Linked DNA regions of Homo sapiens: region 1 is linked to region 2. The links are contacts of gene promoters, found by promoter capture Hi-C in human tissues and cell types (Jung and others, 2019). All regions are on one chromosome and are shown on one strand. Each heading gives the region's core, a stretch centred on a gene start or on the middle of the fragment in contact. The rest is flanking DNA. Distances are from core to core; before and after follow the strand shown.

Region 1 (3,319 bases), core at 463-2,962, 260 kb before region 2:
GCTAAACCAATCATAGATGACCCGCTTCTGGGTTGGGGTTTCCTAGGTAGCTAAGCAGATCCCTGGCTGCAATCTATTCAAAGTCAGTCCTTGACACTGGGGTTTGTTTAAAAAAAAAAAAAAGCTTAAAGAAAAAGGAGAAGAAAGAAAAAACTTTTAGTCCACATTAACTTTGAAAATCTTAGTGTTAAATAACCTATAACATCCACATAGATGTGATGAGCCCACTAACTAAAACACTGACAACAAATAAAGTACATTAAACAGGCTGCACCTCAGCATTTCCCATATACCTGAACCTGCTGCGGCTGCTGAACCTGGATCTGCTGTTCTTGCTGGGTTTGTGGCTGAACACTGGTGGTGACTGGACAGGCAAGTTCAAGCAAAGACCCAGCCACTTCAGTGCTGTCTGTGTATATGCAGTTCCCACCCTGTTGGTACACCATGGTAGTGGTGGCTGTCTGCTGGAACTCCTGAAGGGCTTCTGGCCCCTTAGAGGCCAGTGAGTCCAGAAATTCCTTCATCCTGTGTTGCGGGACAGACCGTGCCTTTACTCGGATGTACTCTTCAAAGGAGATGGTGTTCTCTAGGGAATTATTCATATTGCAGAGTCCTTAGGGTTCCTAGAAATAAACAGAAGTCAAAATTATGTTACTGTTTTTAGCAGGAAATGCCCAGAAGCAATTACCCTTGCACAAGAGTGGAATATATTCAGGGCAGCTGTATACATATAGAATCAAAAAATAAAGTTTTATTATACCACCTTATTTTTTCAATTAATGGATGTTTGAAAATTATTTCTATTAACATTTCTTAAATAAAACTATCACACTGAAAACAAAAAAACAAACACATGCTTCACAATACTGGATGAAACAGGCTGAAAACACACTTCCTACCCAGCACTAGGTCAATCCCATCTTCTCTGCAGAGCCAAGCACTGGACAGTAAATGTCACATGCAAAACTGCTCTGTGACCATCACAGAGAGGACACCAAGCAAGGAGGAAGCTAGGGGCAGGGATTCCTATGGATATGTTTTATTTCCAAGTATTTCCTACAGCAGAGATAGGTATGCCACCTAGTTGTGGCAAGACACAAGAGGCAGAGGATATGTTCTTCATCTCCCATCAGAAAAACCAAAAATCCTATTTTGCCATGTGGTGCTCACATTCTTTTGCAACACAGCTTACTACTGGTTAAAAGCATGGACTCTGGAGCCAGGCTGCCTGGGTTCAAATCCCAACTTTATGTCTCCTTTATTATGTAACTCTAGAAAAGTCAATTAACCTTAGTTTTCTTGTGAGTAAATGGGGACACAATAGTACTTACCTCACAGTTGACATAAGGATTAAATAAGGCATTTAGAAAATCATCTAGCACATAGATAGCACTACAGAAATGTAACTAATACTATTAAAATAATTCTGGAAAAAAGGTAAATAGTGCTTTAAATATCCAGGTCACTACTAAAATTCAGAAATAAATTCTACAAGTTTTCATCAGGTATTTAATTACCTTAAGAATTAACCTGCAGACGTACAGTTAACTCTCATCATCTGAGGGAAAAGTGTGCAATCTGTGGACTGCTGACCCCTGTCGCTGCTACCTTTGTACCATCCTCCCTTCAACAGCCCGACCTCCAGAACAAAAGTAGCAGCAGGATGAAAGAGTAACAGAAAACAAGCGAACGTTTTTGCCAAAAAGGATTATCAGACAATTCTGAATGTCTGGAAAGGTGATTTGTTCCCTTGAGCAATCAGGATAGATACACTAGACTGACCAGATGCTCTACCTTATGTTACAGATATAAAATATGTGGGTAAACGTCTCCTTTCTTCTACCTAGGCTCTAAGTTCTTGGTAGACAAGACTATGTCCTGGTTCTCTCCGAATAGCTCACCCATGGTAGTTGCTTCATATATACCTGCTGCATTTGAAATTCAATGTGGAAAACGAAGAATTATGGTTCCTTTTTTTTTTTTTTTTTTTTTTTTTTGAGATGGAGTCTCATTCTGTTGCCCAGGCTGGAGTGCAGTGGCTTGATCTTGGCTCACTGCAAGCTCCACCTCCTGGGTTCACACCATTCTCCTGCCTCAGCCTCCCGAGTAGCTGGGACTACAGGCGCCCACCACCACGCCCAGCTAATTTTTTTGTATTTTTAGTAGAGACGAGGTTTCCCCATCTTAGCCAGGATGGTCTCGATCTCCTGACCTCGTGATCCGCCTGCCTCAGCCTCCCAAAGTGCTGAGATTACAGGCGTGAGCCACCACACCTGTCCTTTTTTTTTTTTTTTTTTTTTGAGTTGGAGTCTCCCTCTGTCGCCCAGGCTGGAGTGCAGTGGCACGATCTCGGCTCACTGCAGCCTCCCAGGTTCAAGTGATTTTCCTGCCTCAGCCTCCCGAGTAGCTGGGACTACAGGTGCCCACCACCATGCCCAGCTAATTTATGTATTTTTAGTAGAGACTGGGTTTTGCCATGTTGGCCTGGCTGGTCTCAAACTCCTGACTTCAGGTGACCCTCCCGCCTCGGCCTCCCAAAGTGCTGGGATTATAGACGTGAGCCACCCAATTGGTTTCTGTAATATCCATAGCTCCACGGACTCAAGCAATCCTTCCACCTCAGCCCAGGCAACATGGAGAAACCCCATCTCTACAAAAAATATATAAAAATTAACTGGGTATGGTGGTATGCACCTGTAGTCCCAGCTACTACGGAGGCTAAGGTAGAAGGATTGCTTGAGCCCAGAGATCGAGGCTGCAGTGACCCGAGATCACTCGAATGCACTCCAGCCTAGGCGACAGAGCGTAACTCTGTCTAAAAAAAACAAACAAACAAACAAACAAAAAAATTAAGTTATCAGCTGGTCACAGTGGTGCACACATGTAGTCTCAGCTACTCAGGAGGCTGAGGTGGAGGATTGCTTGAGACCAGGTCTTTGGGCTGGGAAACCTAGAGAGACTTTCATCTGTTAAAAGAAATAAATAAATAAAATAAAATAAATAATTATAATAAAATATTATAATAATTACAATTATGTAATATAAATATAATTTTTACATAAATATAAAAATATTATAATTATAATAATTAAATATTATAACAATTATAATAAAATACTATAATAAAATAATAATAATTAAGTGGTCAACGATGTCCACATCACACATAAAGAGAGCATCAGGCCAAGCACACTTTGCCTAACTACAGATTCAGAGAAGGCTACTTGGCTTAGGTGATCCGAGAGCACTCATTTGCCACACTTGCACAGAATGTATCAAAGTTCCCCTTTGTTAATAGCACAGTAGCGATTTCCTTAAG
Region 2 (3,339 bases), core at 454-2,953:
GAGGTTAACTTAAAAAGTACCTCTGCTAGGCCGGGCGCAGTAGCTTCCGCCTGTAATCCCAGCACTTTGGGAGGCCACAGCGGGCGATCACCTGAGATCTGGAATTCGAGACCAGCCTGACCAAAATGGAGAAACCCCGTCTCTACTAAAAATACAAAAAAAATTAGCCGGCCGTGGTGGCGCATGCCTGTAATCCTAGCTACTGGGGAGGCTGAGGCAGGAGAATCGCTTGAACATGGGAGGGGGAGGTTGCCGTGACCCGAGATCGCGCCATTGCCCTCCAGCATGGGCAACAAGAGCGAAATTCCTTCTCAAAAAAAAAAAAAAAAAGAAAAGAAAAGAAAAGAAAACACAAAAAAAGTACCTCTGTTTACCCTGCCTTTCACAAACTGGTTAGCTCAAGGTGAATACATAAGCTGTTATCTGTACTCCTCCTAACCCCAATTTTTCTATTCTCCTGCTCAATTCCTCGGCAGATCATCACCACAATGATTTCTTAAAGATAGGTAACACTCGGGCCGAGCACGGTGGCTCCCACCTGTAATCCCAGCACTTTGGGAGGCCGAGGCGGGTGGATCATAAGGTCAAGAGTTTGAGACCAGCCTACCCAACATGGTGAAACCCGGTCTCTACTAAAAATACAAAAAATTAGCTGGGTGTGGTGGCGTGAGCCTGTAATCCCAGCTACTCGGGAGGCTGAGGCAGGAGAATCGCTTGAACCCGGGAGGCGGAGGTTGCCGTGAGCCAAGATCACGCCACTGCACTCCAGCTTGGGCAACAAGAGTGAAACTCCATCTCAAAACAAAACAAAACAAACAAGATGGGTAACAATCATACTCGATGCAAAGTCTAGCCTTAGTTTTTCTACTCCTACACAATTACACCACCCAGGAATCTCTCCAGTAGTACAAAGTATTGTCCCCTCTACTAAACAATCTATTAAGATGCCTAATAACTCAGCCTGGGTCTTCTAAATTCTGGACCCTTCATCTTCTATCTAGCTCCAGGACCTAGGCTATCCTCCTCTCCCACTCCAAGACACTGCTGCCGCAAATATTTTTGACACTTGCTACCAAAATAATCGGGGTTCTCAGACATTTGTTCAGCTTCTGACCTTGACATCTGTTGGCAGTTTACAAGTTACAAAGTATCTACTTCTGATTTTCCCCTCAACCCACTGAGGTCGGTGAGCCAAATATTGCTATCCTGGTTTTAACAGTGAGGAATCCAGGTCTGTGACACCTTCGCCCAAGGTCACACGGCGAGTCCTCATGGTAAAGGGCTCTCCCCACCCTTAGGGTCCCCACCAACCTTCCCCTTCTCCACATCCCTCCTCCTGGCCCCCGCCGGGCCCGCCCCCTAGGGCTCCAAATGAACTGAGACGACACTCAGGCCCCGCCTGCGCTTTCCCAGAGCTGATCCTGGAGTTATTCTCCTGAGGGGCAGGTGTCAGGCTACTCTTCCAGGGTCACTACATACCATCCCCGCCCAGCCCCTACTCTAGCCGAGAAAAAGGAGGCCCCTTTTTCTCGGCCCCTGGTTCTGCATAGAGGAAGAGCGAGCCGGGAGCTCACCACTGCGCCCCGCGTTGGAGTGTGGTCCTCATTAAGGGTCCAAGCTCGGACTTCTGAGTCTCCGCATCCGGTCGCTCACGGCAGCCTCCACCTTCCGCCATCTCCTCCGCGGCCCCGGCCCAGCCGGCCCGGACATCCGCCCCGCGCGCGGCGTGCTATAGACCGCGCCCACGCACGCACGCTCGCGTGCCCGCCCCTGCCCCACCTCGAGCCGCGGCCTTCGGCTCCTGCAGCCGCTGTCTTTTCTCCCCTCCGCTCTCGCGCCACCTAGCTCACCGGCGAACAGTGGAGCGGAAAGGCACACGCGAGAGGGGTGGGCGGGGAGCAGCAGCTGCTACTTCCTCCCGCCCTGCCGCCCGCTACGCGGCCTTCGGGCGCCCCTTCCTCTGCTCAGGATGGCGCTACACTTCGAAGCTCTGTTCAGCCCGCCGATCTCAGGGAGTTAGGCAGCAAGCCCACGACCCATCGGGCACCCCAGCCTGGCCTTCGAGGTTATCGTGGTCCTAAATAAATGCAGGCCAGGTGCGAGAAGCCCGGTAGTTAGGTCTGCTCATTCTCACCCCTGCAATTCCGCTTTCAGCTGGAGGCCTTAGGCGAGTCAGCTGCCCAAACGTGGGATCGGGGCTCCTGCTCCAGCGGCCCTACAGGGATTTCGGGAAGTACCATGTGCACCAGCGCCTTGGGACCAAGACTCAATGGTGTGTTGTAGTCATTAACAGTCGCCTTAAACAGTCGACGCCAGAGCCACCTGGCCCACCGCAGAATTCCGTCAGCTCTTCATACTGAGCTACTTGCCAAGCAGCCACAGAGGGGCGATAGCAACAGGGGAAGGAGAGGTACTCCACATTAGTTACCCAGGCGTGTACTTAGTTCCTGGAACAAGATACAACGTCCTGAACACTATGTTTTCCAGTCGCCCCGCTCACACACACAACCCTCCTCTTGGAGGGAGAAGTAAACCCAGAGGAAAGAGGAAGTCAGGCAGTTGGTCTAGATGCGTCTCCATACACTTGTCTAACAGTCCTTGTCCTCAGAGAAAAATAAGACCTAGTTCCTGCCCTCATAGAATCTAGTAGAAAAGAAGAGATGTTACAGAAATAACCTCAATGCCTAGCAGTATGTGGTAAGTGCCATTAAAGTGTGTGAACCAGGCCGGGCGCGGTGGTTCAAGCCTGTCGTCCCAGCACTTTGGGAGGCTGAGGCGGAAGGATAGGTTCAGCCCAGGAGTTAGAGACCAACCTCGGCAACATAGCGAAATCCCGTCTCTACAAAAAAATACAAAAAATAGCCGGGCAGTGGCTCGCGTCTGTGGTCCCAGGTACTTGGGAGGCTGAGGTAGGAAGATCCCTTGAGCCCAGGAGGTCGAGGTTGCAGTGAGTCGAGATGGCGCCACTGCACTTGAGACTGGACGGCAAAGTGAGACCCTGTCTCAAAAAAAAAAAAATAAATACAAATAAAGGGTGTGAACCGGCCGGGCGCGGTGGCTCACACCTGTAATCCCAGCACTTTGGGAGGCCGAGGCAGGAGGATCACCTGAGGTCGGGCATTCGAGACCAGCCTGACCAACGTGGAGACCGAAATGTCTTAAAAAAAAAAAAAAAAAAAGACCGGGCGTCCGGCGCGGTGGTTCATGTTTGTAATCCTAGGACTTTGGGAGGCCGAGGCGGGCAGATCACGAGGTTAGGAGTTCGAGACCAGCGTGGCTAATATGGTGAAACCCCTTCTCTACTAAAAATACAAAAAAAAAAAAAAAAATTAGCCGTTA

What was found. Contacts are between HindIII fragments. The study calls those that stand out against the background at their distance.
Region 1: a fragment that was not itself captured here is called in contact with the fragment with the promoter of USP4 in region 2 in 2 of the 25 tissues and cell types used here (adrenal gland and liver).

What each region holds. Positions count from the first base shown.
Region 1 is chr3:49,076,416-49,079,734 of GRCh38, forward strand. It overlaps QRICH1 (glutamine rich 1), which reads right to left. Exons shown (of 10, transcript NM_198880.3): 2 at 294-623. The coding sequence starts at 602. Among named protein-coding and RNA genes, the nearest start is that of QRICH1, 16 kb to the right of the region's middle. The HindIII fragment of the contact is 7,025 bases long and covers 1-3,319 here.
Region 2 is chr3:49,338,350-49,341,688 of GRCh38, forward strand. USP4 (ubiquitin specific peptidase 4) reads right to left here and starts at 1,704. Exons shown (of 22, transcript NM_003363.4): 1 at 1,575-1,704. The coding sequence starts at 1,675. RefSeq lists a silencer at 1,645-1,834 and enhancers at 1,875-2,374, 2,005-2,174, 2,265-2,324. The HindIII fragment of the contact is 25,899 bases long and covers 1-3,339 here.